Regions from separate parts of the Homo sapiens genome. Here region 1 is linked to region 2. The links are contacts of gene promoters, found by promoter capture Hi-C in blood cells and fetal thymus (Javierre and others, 2016). All regions are on one chromosome and are shown on one strand. The core of a region is centred on a gene start or on the middle of the fragment in contact, and the rest is flanking DNA. Distances in the headings are between cores, read along the strand shown. Region 1 holds the start of FCAR (Fc alpha receptor). Region 2 holds the start of TNNT1 (troponin T1, slow skeletal type).

What was found. Contacts are between HindIII fragments. The CHiCAGO score rates a contact against its expected background, and 5 or more counts as called.
Region 1: a contact is called between the fragment with the promoter of FCAR here and the fragment with the promoter of TNNT1 in region 2, in 2 of 17 cell types (M2 macrophages and M0 macrophages). The highest score is 12.6, in M2 macrophages.

The regions. Positions count from the first base shown.
Region 1 is chr19:54,872,785-54,875,484 of GRCh38, forward strand. FCAR (Fc alpha receptor) reads left to right here and starts at 1,451. Exons shown (of 5, transcript NM_002000.4): 1 at 1,451-1,539; 2 at 2,546-2,581. The coding sequence starts at 1,506. The HindIII fragment of the contact is 1,936 bases long and covers 578-2,513 here.
Region 2 is chr19:55,147,779-55,150,478 of GRCh38, forward strand. TNNT1 (troponin T1, slow skeletal type) reads right to left here and starts at 1,428. Exons shown (of 14, transcript NM_003283.6): 1 at 1,383-1,428. The HindIII fragment of the contact is 19,232 bases long and covers 1-2,700 here.

The DNA of each region.
Region 1 (2,700 bases), core at 201-2,700, 270 kb before region 2:
AACACGGTGAAACCCCGTTTCTACTGAAAATACAAAAAAAATTAGCCGGGCGTGGTGGCGGATGCCTGTAGTCCCAGCTACTCGGGAGGCTGAGGCAGGAGAATAGCATGAACCCAGGAAGTGGAGCTTGCAGTGAGCTGAGATCACGCCACTGCACTCCAGCCTGGGCGACAGAGCAAGACTCCGTCTCAAAAAAAAAAAAAGAATAAATAAAATAAAATAAAATAGTAGAAGGTTTAATTAGGAATATTTCACTCTCCATACCTGAAGAATTCGTGATAGCCAGGAGTCTACAATCAAAATAACATAAATAATAAGATAAAAATAAAATTAATTTGAAGCCATAAAAAAAGAATGAGTTCATATGTTTTGTGGAAACATGGATGGAGCTGGAGGCCATTATCCTTAGCAAACTATACAAGAACAGAACACCAAATACAGCAGGTTCTCACTTATAAGTGGAAGCTAAATAATAGAACTCATGAACACAAAAAAGGGAAAAACAGACAATGGGGTCTCCTTTAGGGTGGAGGGTGGGAGGCGGGAAAGGAGCAGGCAAAGTAACTATTAGGTACCAAGCTTATTACCTAGGTGATGAAATAATCTGTACAACAAACCCCCATGACACAAGTTTACCTGTATAACAAACCTTCCCATGTACCCTTGAACCTAAAATAAAAGTTAAAAAAATACTCAATGAGCAACAATGTACATTATTTGAGGATAATTATATTAAAAGCCCAGACTTCACCACTACACAAAATATCCACGTAATAAAATTTCACTTGCGCTCCTTAAATTTATACAAATAAACAAAAAAGTATAATAAAATAGTAGATTCTTTCTTTAGAGATGACAAATAGTGCCAGAGAAAATGCCTCCACACTCTGGCATTGAGATCATCTCCAGGATAAGGGTATACTGCATGCCTGGTCAAGTCCAAGTAAATATACTCAGACCATGAATCTCAGAGATGAAACATAGGTTCAGAACAGACAAAGCCACAGAGCTTTTGACTAATGGCCCAGTGAAGGCAATGTCTGCCTGTATGGTATCCACCACCTTATATTCTGTCCCAAGCCCGTCTATTTGGATGTAGCATCTGGTTCAAAGATGAATTTGAACACCATTAGACACTGGCTTAATGAAAATTCACTTCTCATTCGTTTCTCATCTGAAACATAAATAGAAATATAGGTCTTAGGCAGGAGGATTTCTTGATGCCAGAAGTTAGAGACTACCCTGGCCAACATAGAAAGACCCCATCTCTATTTAAAAAAATATACATATATATGTCTTCTCTTGGGCTCCACCCAAGAGCAACCTGGAACTAAGTTATTCGGCAACGAACTGTTCCACTTTGTTGTGAGGCAATAGATGTGGAAATTCCCTGACGAGGGGCTCTGTCCTCATACTTCCTGCGGAGCTTATTGTCGTAAGAATATCTGTCATCCTGCTAATGTGCATTGAAAGGAGAGCAACGGGGCTGAGGCCGTGTCAGCACGATGGACCCCAAACAGACCACCCTCCTGTGTCTTGGTGAGTTTCAGAGTAAAAGTGGGTTAGAGGGGAAGATAGAGAAATCCCAAAATAATCAGGGTGTCTCTTAACAGTGTGACTAGGAGATTTTAGTGGCTGCCAAGGAGATTCTGATCTCCTTAGTGGAAAGGCCGTCTTTGTCAATGTATCTATAACTTTGTCTCTACCCAAGCCCAAGCTAGCTTGTGGGGCTCAAGGTTTAATATTTGTATTAAACCTATAGTGTGTTATCTGGGATTCATGATGGTCCCAAGGTTCTTATCAAGGAGAGACTTAGAGGCTGGAATCTGAAAGGTAAAAATAAAGAATGAACCTCAAAACTGTGATTGTTGTGGAAGGAAAACATATGATAGAACCCCATATAGAAATATGGTTACTAGTATTTTGTTGAAGATTTTTGCATTTATGTTCAACAAAGATATTATCCAGAAGTTTTCTGTTTTTGTTGTATCTCTGCCACATTTTGTTATCAGGATAATGTTGGCCTCATAGAATGAGTTGGGGAGGAGTCCCTCCTCCAGGATTTTTTTCAATAGTTTCAGTAGGAATAATACTAGCTCTTCTTGGCCGGGCGCAGTGGCTCACACCTGCAATCCCAGCACTTTGGGAGGCCAAGGCAGGCGGATCACAAGGTCAGGAGATCAAAACCATCCTGGCCAACATGGTGAAACCCTGTCTCTACTAAAAATACAAAAAAATTAGCCAGGCGTGGTGGCGGGCGCCTGTAGTCCCAGCTACTCGTGCGGCTGAGGCAGGAGAATGGCATGAACCTGGGAGGCAGAGCTTGCAGTGAGCCAAGATCATGCCACTGCACTCCAGCTTGGGCGACACAGCGAGACTCTGTCTCAAAAAAAAAAAAAAATGCCAGCTCTTCTTTATATATCTGGTGGGATTGAGCTGTGAATCCATCTGGTACTGGTCTTTTTCTGGTCTGTCATTACAGAGGGTGATTTGTCGTAAAGGTTGGAAATGGAAGCTTGATTTTTCATAAATCTCTCTCTTCCAGTGCTCTGTCTGGGCCAGAGGATTCAGGCACAGGAAGGTAAGTGTCCTGTAAATCTCTCCCAGCCCCTTTAGACCCTCTTGGGAGCTCTAGGATAAAGAAATTGAAGAATAGCCTGAAGCACCATTCTTATTTTAATCCCCATTCTAGTTGTTTCT
Region 2 (2,700 bases), core at 178-2,677:
GGAGGGTCTGGGGGCCTGGCCTCCTGGGTCTGAGGGAGGAGGAGCTGGGGCCTGGACTCCTGGATCTAAGGGAGGAGAGGCTGGGAGTCTAGACTCCTGAGTCTGAGGGAGGAGCGGGCTGGGGGCCTGTACTCCTGCGTCTGAGGGAGGAGGGCTCAGGTCTGGACTCTTGGGTCTGAGGGAGGGGGCCGGCTGTCCTAAAGCATGCATGAGGACAGACCTTGGTAGGTGTGGTCCTGGCACAGCCAGGAGGCTGCAGACCCTGCCCCCTCAGCACAGCTGTCCTCTTTTGTCTTATGACAAGTCCATGGGAACCTGATCCAGTTGGGATTAGGAAGAGGCATTTGAGAAGGGACAGTGGCCTGAAGACAATAGCTGCCCCACCCCCAGGAGCTATTTTGGGGGGATGTCATAGATGGTGAAACCGAGGACATTTCCTAAGAAGGGATTTGAGGAAGGGGGGCTTCTGGGAGAATTAGTCACCCGCATCCCCTCTCCCACTCGCCCCACCCCACTGGCTGGTTTCCTCCCCACCTGTCTCCCCTTTCACCTTCCCATACATCACGTAGGGGGCAGGGGCATAAAGGGCACCTTCTGTCCGTAGACCTCACCCTGACCCCTACATTCTTAGACCTCAAAGTCTTTGAGACACCCTAGGCCACAGGGTGCCTAGCCCCAAATCCCAATACCCACAGATTCTGAGACCCCGATTTATGATGCCCGTGTTTCTGAGGCCAGCAAGTCCTCACAGCTCTGGATTCTGAAATCCCAGTTCTTGATAGTCCAGATATGGGCCGGGACATCCTAAGACCACCCCCAGGTCTTGAGACCTCCTAAAATCTGAAACCTCAAGAATATGAGACCCCCAAAATCTTGATACCCAAACTCGGAGGCCCAGTTCATGATACCCCAGATAATGGCACTCTAAGTTTTCATGCTTTCTATCATAATGTCTCAGATTCCGAGCCCTCCACTACCAAAACCCCAATTTCTTCTGAGACCCCCCCAATTCCTGATACCCTCAGAGTCTGAGGCCCCAAATCCTGACACCCAGATTGTTTGACCTCCAAGTCCAGATATCCCTGACTGCTGAGATTTCCCCCAGATTCCCAGAACCCCAAGATCCTAGGAGGTTTTATTCTGGGACATCCAAGTCCTGGCAGCCCCGGGTTAGGATTTGTGTAACCCACAAATCCTAGTATTTTCCCCTCTATCCTGAGTCCCCCTAAAGTCTGAGCCTCTCAAGTTCCCAGACCTCCAGTTGTATGCCCCACCTACCTCTGCACCATTTCTCCACACCCGACATCTTCCCCACCTGCCTCCTGCCCCCTCCCCCAAGGACATGGTTTTTGAAGACCACAGGGCTCCGCAGAGCCCCTTACCTAGGCTGTGTCTGAGATGCTGTGAATCTTGAGGCTGAGCCTTGCTGAGGGCACTGAAGCTCCGGGGAGTTTATAGCTGGAGGCTCGGGCCCGCCCCGAGGGGAGAGGGAGGGGGAGAGAATTCCTTTGCTCAAACACAAGCCTGGGAGTTCAGAGACAGCCCTGCTGCCCCTGGCTCCACACTCAGAGTCCAGAAGCCTCCGTGGGCCCCTCCCCAACCCCATGCCAACCCCATCTGCATGGCCCAGGAGCCCCGCCCCTGCTCCCACCCCACACCCCAGGCTCCCGTGGTGCTCCAACTACCTCCCTTATAGCTCCCTGTGCTTTGACGTCCCCATGCCCGGCACACAGTAGGTCCTTGGAGGACCTACTAATGACACATGGGCTATAAGGAATGTTTCCTGTTTTCTTCTCTCTGTTCCCTCTTTCTATCTAGGTCTCTTTCTGGACCCCCATTTCTGTTGTCTCTGTGGCTCTCCATCTGTGTGTCTCTGTGTGTCTGTCTCTACTTCTTAGTCTCCTCCTCTGTCTCTGTCCATCTTTTTGTCTCCTCCTCCCACCCCCACCCCTTTGTCTGCCGCCAGGATTCCATCCTGGTGACAACAGGCACTAAAGCCGGGAAGCAGGTGTGGGGAGGGGGAGGGGGAGGGTGGGGTGTCAATTAGGGTGAAACCTACCCTCCCTCCCCACCTCCATCTAACGCTGATCTTTTTTGGTATCCCCCTCCCGCTTCCCAGCCAAGCCATGACCTTGAGTTCTAGGTTCAAGCCAGCCCTGGAGAGCAGGCTTCCTCACCCTCCCCGCCTCTCCGTACCTCTGTCTCTGGTGGTCTCGGTCTTTGTGTTTCTGTGCATTTCTCGGGGCCCCTTGCTGGGTCTGTCTTGGGCTCTCTCTGCATCTGTCGCTTTCTGAGCCCCTCAGTGTGTTTCTCGGCATGTGTCTCCGGGTGGTTTTGTCTCTGCATTTCTGTGGGTGTCTCTGCATGTCTGCCCCTCTCAGCGTTTGTGTCTGTGGGGGCTCACAGTCTCTCTGTGCATTTCTGTCCACCTATGACCCCATTTCTGTCTCTTTTTGGCTCTGGGTCTCTGTGTCTGTGTTCACGTCTCTATCTTTCTAGTTCTCTCCATGTCTCTCTTAGTGCCCGCAGTTCCCCCTCTGTGGCTCTCCATTTCCATCTCTTATAGGGTCTCCATGTCTCTGCACCTTGCTGTGAGTATATCTCTGTCTCTCTTTTCTCCTTTCTTTGCACTTCCTTCTATGCATCTTGTGGTATTTTCTCCCTCTCTCTTTGGGTCTTTGCCTGGCTCCTACTCTCTCT